3 separate regions of the Homo sapiens genome follow, and all the other regions are linked to region 3. The links are contacts of gene promoters, found by promoter capture Hi-C in blood cells and fetal thymus (Javierre and others, 2016). All regions are on one chromosome and are shown on one strand. The core of a region is centred on a gene start or on the middle of the fragment in contact, and the rest is flanking DNA. Distances in the headings are between cores, read along the strand shown.

Region 1 (2,700 bases), core at 93-2,592, 950 kb after region 3:
TGCGAAAGAAACGAAGACTAAGTTGCTCTCCAGGGATGCTGGGAAATAATGGAATATATAACATGGTTTATGAGTGTTAAAAAGCTGATATAGAAGCCAGACAATACCTTTCAAAAAAACTGGCTTCTATGAAGCATGCTAGCCCTGCTGAAAAATCAACCTATACGAATCATACAAAGCTTCACCTTGCTTCTTCAAAGCCCTATATGTGACTTAGGAAAAGCGCACTGGGTATCTCTACGAATTGAAGTATCAAGTGGGTTTACGGAGAAGCAGAGAGTTCAGAATAGAAGGAAAAAACTAGATGAAAATTTAAATTGCTTCTGAGCCTTCATTTTGAAACTGTAGCCAGGAAACAAAGGCAACGAGTCCAATACCATTCCTCACCTCTAGAAAACAAGAGCAAAGAACAAAAATATGGAAATGTTAATCATGGACCAACTGAATGAAATATTAAGAGGATGACCAATGGGAGGAAGCATGGAAGCATACTTTCCTGGGGAAGGCTGACTGTGCTGAAGAGTCAGGGAGTTTATAAAAGCCCATTATTACATCACTTAGTAAGTTTTTTTTTAACCTTTAGGTTTTAATTCAGCCAAAGAAGGGCTGAGTTCCTCACTCTCCTACTTTGTCAAAAGACCTGAGAAAAACCAACTATAAATAAATAACCTTTGGGCTCCAAGTCATACACACTTTGAGTCTCTAATTTCAAATTTCTCTAGGCATAAAGTATCCTGAGCACAGATCCTTGTGGGAAAAGTTGCTACGATCGATCTTAAGTGGTCTGCTGTCTGACTTAGCAATATTTGTCAAATCACATTCATTAATATTTTAGTTTACTATTTATGGCTAGAAGAGAGAGAATGGCTGCTGAGGAGAGTATTAGGCCAAAGGAGACTTCATGGGAAGTCTTCTGGGAGTTAGAGGTCCGAGAACTCAGTGCCTTAACGATGAGTTTGCTGAGCGTGAAGTATACCATCACAAGATTGCTTCTCAATTCCAAGACCTGGCGTTTGTTATTTTACTTCTGTGGTTTAAAATTACAAAGGAGCGGGAGGAAGACTGGCCCAGGAAAAGTGTTCCACTAAATAGGCCCCCAGAATTAATAGTTACATTATTTACTGTTCTACCAGCTGCTAAAATTTCAGATGCTGGGGGTGAGAAAAAGCAAGTTATTTAGAATTCAGAATTTATTGGCTATGTGACCACAGGCAATGCTCCTCAAATGTCACCGGGCCTCAGGTTCCTCTTCTACAAAATGGGGACAAAACATCTACCTCCCAGGTTGGTGTGAAGACTGAGATGATATATGTCCAGCAGTACAGCAGTCTCCCCTTATCTGTGGGGGATATGTTCCAAGACACCCAGTGGATAAATAAAAGTGTGGATAGCACTGAACTGTAGCAAAGAAACACCAAGGTCACTTTTTTTACTTAAAGGAATCACTTCATGGGTTCTCTTTGGCATATCCAAATTGCCAGCATCATTACTCCTGTACTTTGGAGCCATTATTAAGTAAAATAAGGGTAACTTGAACACAAGCACTACAATGCTGTGACAGTCAATCTGATAACCTAGACAGCTATTAAGCGACTAACAGAGGGTAGCGTACACACTGTAGATATGCTAGACAAAAAGATGATTCATGTCCTGGGCGGGACAGCGCAAGATTTCATTATGCTACTCAGAATGGTGCACAATTTAAAATTAATGGATTGTTTATTTCTGGGATTTTCCATTTAATATTTTCAGACCATGGTTCACTGCTCACTGCAGGTAACTGAAACTGCAGAAAGCAAAACCACAGATAAGGGGGGACTACTGTACAGCAAAGTTTCTCAAACGGTGTCTTTTAAGTTATAGATATGCTGAGGTAATGATCCCCATATCCCTTAGGGCAGGCAGCAGGTGGCAGGATCTCTGAGAGGCTAGACCATTTACCCAAATGTGCCATACAAATACAATCATGTTCTGTGTGCCATACGATAAACAAGGTCAAGAATCACAGTGAAGGATGCCTGCACGGTGCTTACTTAATATGTAGTAGTTACTTATTCAATATCTACCCCCACCCCCAATCCTCAAGAGCCCTGGTTTTCTCAGTTGTAAATGAGATCCACTATCTGTCACAGAAATGAAATGAAACCATGTTAAGGCATATAGCACAGTGCCTAGCTCATAGAAGGTAATCAATAAATTAGTTCTTCTCCTAGGTGGAGTCAGAGATCGGACTCTGAAGCTGTGGTTGGGAGAGGTTTTAGGATTGCGGTAATTCCCTGAATCAGGAATTGGTTAGCAGTACAAGGAAAAACAGAACTCCTATAAGTGTCAGACTGCTGTAATGTCTGGAATCCTAGAACAAGCCGGCTGGGTAAGTCCTCAGAGTTACTGCCTGGACAACCCAAGACACTAAAACATAATCAATTCATTCAGACAGGTTTTAAGAGCTATTCTTAAAACCCTTTAGAAAAAATTTTCTTCTATCTTTTCTCTAAGGAAGCTTCTAGAATGTCAATAATCAATCCAGAAAGGGCTTCTGGCAACTGTATTATCTCATCTTCTTTTCTCATTAACAACTTTGGGGTTTTTACTCCTGAATGCACCCTAGGATCCAATTCCCCATTTTTTTCTTTTTTCTTGAGATGGGGTCTCGCTCTGTCACCCAGGCTGGAGTGCAGTGGTGCCACCTCTGCTCACTGC
Region 2 (2,700 bases), core at 123-2,622, 780 kb after region 3:
CGGTGCCTCCTGACCCCACCTTACCTGAGCACCCCTGCTCAGGACAGCCAGGGCCTGGGACCCAGGGCAGTCCACCCCTGCCCTCCCTCCATCCTCTCCACCCCCGTGGGTACGAAGTCCTCACTGCGGCTGGGCCCAGAGGCAGGGGTGCAGTCCCGCGGCCTGGGGCCAGTGTCCAGTGGCCATCTGTTTGCCCTGCCCCGCCCAGACCTCCGACCTGGAGCCCAGCAGCCTGATTGACAGATACCCCTCCCACCCCACCCCCCTCCGGCCCCCTGCAACTAGCCTTTCCACCTTGCCCTCAGTTCCGGGGCAGCCAGACCCAGGCGAGGGTGGGCAGACCTGGGGGCAGCGTCCAGATCCTGAGGTCCACACGGGGAAAAGGAGAAGACAGACCCCCCCACCCCGGCCCAGCCACGCTGGGGGACGCAGCCTCGTCGGGGCGGCGAGGCTTTGCGGGGTGGTGCGTGCCCACTAGGCGCACGACTCTCCCCGCGGGCGCCAAGCGACTCTTGGAAGTGCCGGCCGTCCTCTCTGTGCCTCCGAGGGGGTCGGCGCCTCCACGCGTGACGCGAAGTTTGTGGGGAACGTAGCTGTGTGTTGGCGGGAGATCCCTCCAAGCCTCCCCAGCCTGCTGTCACCTCGGCGCCCCCTCCCAAGACCCTACCGGACCGCAGCCCGGGGGGGTGGGGGTGGGGGGTGGGGCGGAGTCTCAGCGGGTGGCCCATAGGCGCCCTCCTCAGCTCCCCCATCTCCCAGCCCCATTGGCGCCAATGGTGGGGGGGCGCCCATGCACCACGCAATGCCTGCCAGGAAACCCCCGAAGAGTTCCCTCTCTATTCCTGCCTCAGTTTCCTCACCTCGAGCGAACAGGAGCGCCCCAAAGGCGCCAGGCCCCGCCCCGCGTCTCTGAGCCTCCTCTGAGTTCAAACTCTCTCCCTGCTCCCTCTCGGGCTGGGAGCTTCGGGCACAGCTAAGGCGGCCGCCCGGGGCGGCGGCGGCGGCTCCCCTGGGGAAGATCCCGGCCCCTTCTCTCCTCCCACGGCGCCCCGGCTTCGGCCCCCTCCCCGCAGCCCCGGTACCTTTGCCCCGCAGCGGGCCCCGAGCCTCCTCCTTGCTGATCTGAGTAATGACGGCCGAGCTGTCCATGGGGCCGGGCGCGCTCCGCTCCGGCCGGACTCTGGCCCGGGCGCCCGGCCTCCCCCCCGGCTGGGGCCGGAATCGGGGCGCGGGGGGGAGGGGAGGGGTGGGAGGGAGGGATCCCCGCGAGCTCCGGAGGGGAGGGGAGCCAGGTTCTAGGGGGGAGGGGGAGGGAGGGGGCGCGGAGGAAACTTTGTTACAACATGGAGTTTCCTTCCCGCGAGGCGGATGCAAACATGGAACCCAGGCGCCGTTTCAAGGCTCCCCCTTAAAAGGGCAACGGCTTCGGCGTGACCTGGACTCGGCTGCGGCTTTCGCCACTTCTGGGACCGGCGCGGCTAGGCGGACTGGGAGGCGGGCCGGGCCGGGTTCCTGCCGCGCTCCAGGGGGCGTCGCCTCCCTTCCTGCCGCCCGCCGGCGGGGCTGAGTCTCTGCGGCTGCGTGGCAGGCCCGGCACCCGGCTCACCGTTCCAGGCCGCCGAGCGCCCTCGGCCAAGGCCCGCCCGCCGGGAGCGCCCACGCCGGGGAGTGCCCGAGTGCGGCGCGGCTCCACCTCTGCGTTTTCTGAAGACCCGGGACTAGAGGCTTCTCGGTTTCCTCGTTGAGGACTTGGAGATAGCACTACCTCATCTGTAAAATGGGTCTTCTCTCCTGTCTGGTGGTCGCAGAGATCACCTCGCAAGGACGTCAAGAGCCAGCGAAGGCTCTGCTGGCCCGAAACAGCTGTGCAAACCTCAGAATCACGCTCTTGAATGGGACGGTCGCCGCCCCCCGCAGCCCCAGGGCGAGGTGCCCCCGGTCTGTAGGACGTGAAATTCTAACTCTCTGCCCTGGGAAAGCCCCCTGCCGACCTCTCCCCACGGCCCCACCCGGGGCCCCGCACGTCTACCCGCCGCGCACGGGCCACCGCGCGTTCCCGCCTGAAGTTTTCGTACGCGCTGTTCCTTTCGCGTAGCCAAATTCCACCGACCTCGAGGAAATGCCACCTTCTCCAGGGGCCTTCCCAGACCCCCTCCCCTGCCCGCGGTCGACGGCCGCCCTGTGATTACTGGGGGTGCGGTGGGAGTCACTGGACTCGCTGCCGATCCTAGGAGCCCAGCACGGCGCCGCACGCGGTGGGCCCAAAGCCCGACCGTGGGGGACCTCAAACCAGAGGCCCTCAAGGCCCGTTCCACCCGGCCTGTGGCGCAGTGCTGGGCACTTGGGAACGGAGGTCCCTGTCTTCTCGCTGCAAGCCCCTCCGTGGTGCGCGCCGTGGGTCTGCGGGTTGGTCTTTTTCCTCGTTTATGAAGTTCTTTTCACTCGTCGTTACTATTTTGTAAGTTCACCATTTAAAAATTAATAATGCCAAGCCCGACAAACACCCCTCGGCACTTCCTCCCCTCCCCCTCTCCCGCGGGCCTCCGTGGCGGGGCGGGGCGGGCGCGTCCTGTCCCGTCCGGCCGCCGGGTGCGACGCGGCGCACGTCCGCCAGGCCCTGCCGAGGGGGAGCCGGGGAGGGGAGGCCCCGCGCGGGGGCCGGGAGGGGAAGGGAGGGGAGCGGCGTCTGCCAGAAGGCGC
Region 3 (2,750 bases), core at 237-2,736:
GGCCCATCCCCGGCCCCCCACCCGCGCCAGTGTTACCCCCGCCACCGCCGCTCGCCATAGCCCCGCCGCAGCCGCCGCCCGAGCCCGCGAGGAGCCAGGGCTGCGCGGCCGCCGCCGGGGGCGCGTCAGGCGGAAGGGGGCGCCGCGGAGGACAGCAGAGGTTGCGGACGAGCGTCACGTGACTGCGGAGCGCTGAGCCCGTCACGTGACGCGGCCTAACCCCCCCCCCCCCGGATAGGGCGGGCCGCGCATGCGCCCCGGCGGCTGCCGCTGACACTGCGCCTACACAGGTTCGTTTTCTGGTTGACGAAGTACCCCGGGTTCCGAGTCCGGGTCTAGGTCCAGGCAGTCGAGCCCGTTTTCTTATCCCACAGTAGGCAGGGCGGCTAGGGAGTGTGGTGCTGCCCCGGTATCCCCGTGTGGGGCAGGAAGTGGGCTTCCAGATTCCCAGTATCCCCGGTAGGGTCTGCTTCTGCTCGCTCGGGAAGGGCGGTGGCCGTCCCATTACTCAACCAACCCTCAACGCACTGGTCCTCCCAGTTCCCTCCCCTCAGTGGGTAAACAAACACACACCAGCGCTTGACTCGACAGACTCGAAAACAACATCTACTCAGAAAAGTTGTTTCTTTCCTATCTCCTTAAACTTTCCCACTTCCACATATCGGAGCTTCTTCCCACCTCGGCCTACTCAAGCATGAGATCGGAGGCGGGAGGTGGGTTTCAACACAAAACCTTGGGTAGATGCAGTTTACTTTTGGGTGGACGTGTTGACACGTTTTGAGGCCTTACATTCGCTTAAGATCACAGAATTTCCTCAGTAGCCTTAGGTTTAAAAGTTCAAATTACAGTAAAAAAAAAAAACACCCTGAGTTTCTCTTCCTTTTCATAGTTCACCCACTGCTAAATTTCCTGTGTGTCCTTTCAGACGCTTTTCATATGCATTGCTGAGTATGTATAATATCTCTCCTAAAAAGCAACTGGGAACAACTTCCTGTTGTGCGTTTCGTCTTATTCACATTAACTTCTCCATTGCTACGCCTGGCTTGTTCATCCTCAGTGCGGCGTGGTCCCCCCTACGAATTGTCCCCATTTCTCAGAGGCGCCTGGGGCTTGGCCACGTTCCGTGAGACCAGGAGTTCGAGTCCGGTTCCTGCCCGCGGGTCGGGGCGGGAGGCTGGGCCAGATGGGCGGCAGGAAGTGCCAGGCGCTGACTTGCAGGCGGCACCCCCGCGGCTTGTAAACGCCGGGCGGACGCGGCACAGGCGGAGTACGCGCCTCGCAGCCGCATCTCCTTTCTGCTCCGCGAGGTGAGCGTCGCACGGACGCTTGACACCTCCCTTCCCGGGCCTAGGGCCCCCGCGCGCCGCGCCAAGCCCGGGGCGGAACAGGAAGAGGCGCCCAGTTCAGCCCGGGCCCCGCCTTCCGCCGCCGGGGGGAGGGAGCTGCGAGGGCGAGGGCGAGGACGGCGGCCCGCCCCGGGGAGGCAGGCTGGCAGGTGGACAGGCGGGCAAGGACAGCTCCGCGAGCCCCCTACAACTCGTTTCCTTCCGTTCACCTTCGCAGGGCGGCGACTGGCGGCGCGATGGACCTGACCGGGCTCCTGCTGGACGAAGAAGGCACCTTCTCCCTCGCCGGCTTCCAGGACTTCACGGTGAGTGGGGGTCCCGCCCCCTCCCCGGCCTCCCGGCGCGCCCCTCCCGGCCTGAGCGGCGCTGCGAGCTCGCCTGACTGCTGTGCCGGGACTGGGCGGCAGCTGCTCGAGCAGTGCTTCCTTGAGGCCGCGGCTGCTTGGGCCGGGAGGGAGAGCCGCGGAGTATAGGAATGGGCGTAGGGGTGGCCACACGAGGGCCCTTCTCGGAGAACTTCTCCCGGGGAACCCTCGATGGGGGTGGGGGCATTCCTCCCTCTATGGACCAGGCTGCCATTGGCAAGCGATTTACAGAACGCGGGTCTGGGTAAGGCACGGGCCCCCTAGCAGCGAGGCCGGCCTGTCCCCTGCCCCGCCTTCCAGCCCAGAGCCAGGATCTGCATCATACCTTTCCGTGCCCTTCACCCTCCGCTGCCCCTGCCCTGTTTCAGTTCCTCCCAGGACACCAGAAGCTGAGTGCCCGGATCCGAAGGAGGCTCTACTATGGCTGGGACTGGGAAGCCGACTGTAGCCTGGAGGAGCTCTCCAGCCCGGTGGCAGGTTAGGCAGTGTTGTGTGACTGGACAAGTGAGAAGCATGAAAATGGGATTGTCATCAGGCAGAAAATGGCTCGAGGTTTGCCCCGTGGCTACACTGTCTCTTCATTGCTAGCTCGTTGGTACTTGGTTCAAGAGGGCAGTTTGCATTTCCCATTCTTTTAGCCCAAATGAATAAAAAACATTGCTGCCACATATATCTATACAAATCACTCTTGATTTATATATTGAAAAGCTAATTTTCGAAGGATATCCATCATATGTTCCCCAAGTAAACAAGGCATGTTTATGCCACAGATGAACAGCAGTGACAGATAAATCTGGATAGTTTGATGTGACAGGGCAATAAGCTTTCCTGTTAGAATGAGCTGAAATTCGAACTTGGAATGGGCTTTTTGTCTCAGTGTGTGAGAATTTGATCTCTATTTTGTTACTATGGTCCTGTCCCCAAGGCCTCAGAAAATACAGATCTGGGTCTTCTGCTAGCAGTGGGGACTGGTGTGTTGGGTGTGGGTGCTTGTTTGCTCACTCGGCCTTCCTTCTGTCCCTTGCAGACATTGCTGTCG

What was found. The method cuts DNA at HindIII sites, captures the fragments that hold promoters and counts their contacts. A CHiCAGO score of 5 or more calls a contact.
Region 1: a contact is called between a fragment that was not itself captured here and the fragment with the promoter of CNPPD1 in region 3, in 9 of 17 cell types (activated CD4 T cells, naive CD8 T cells, total CD8 T cells and 6 more). The highest score is 10.2, in activated CD4 T cells.
Region 2: a contact is called between the fragment with the promoter of CTDSP1 here and the fragment with the promoter of CNPPD1 in region 3, in 10 of 17 cell types (non-activated CD4 T cells, naive CD4 T cells, naive B cells and 7 more). The highest score is 13.0, in non-activated CD4 T cells.

The regions. Positions count from the first base shown.
Region 1 is chr2:218,222,206-218,224,905 of GRCh38, reverse strand. All of the region lies in intron 2 of ARPC2 (actin related protein 2/3 complex subunit 2), which reads right to left. Among named protein-coding and RNA genes, the nearest start is that of ARPC2, 6.4 kb to the right of the region's middle. RefSeq lists a silencer at 2,037-2,086. The HindIII fragment of the contact is 2,321 bases long and covers 182-2,502 here.
Region 2 is chr2:218,398,540-218,401,239 of GRCh38, reverse strand. It overlaps CTDSP1 (CTD small phosphatase 1), which reads right to left and starts at 1,372. Exons shown (of 7, transcript NM_021198.3): 1 at 1,083-1,372. The coding sequence starts at 1,149. RefSeq lists silencers at 925-1,084, 1,245-1,324, 1,395-1,764, 2,455-2,700. The HindIII fragment of the contact is 4,794 bases long and covers 1-2,700 here.
Region 3 is chr2:219,175,661-219,178,410 of GRCh38, reverse strand. It overlaps CNPPD1 (cyclin Pas1/PHO80 domain containing 1), which reads left to right and starts at 1,486. Exons shown (of 8, transcript NM_015680.6): 1 at 1,486-1,651; 2 at 2,080-2,188; 3 at 2,739-2,750. The coding sequence starts at 1,583. It overlaps RETREG2 (reticulophagy regulator family member 2), which reads right to left and starts at 136. Exons shown (of 9, transcript NM_024293.6): 1 at 1-136. The coding sequence starts at 58. RefSeq lists silencers at 1-101, 1,222-1,271, 1,342-1,551, 1,672-1,731, 1,570-1,864 and 1 more and an enhancer at 1-441. The HindIII fragment of the contact is 4,554 bases long and covers 1-2,536 here.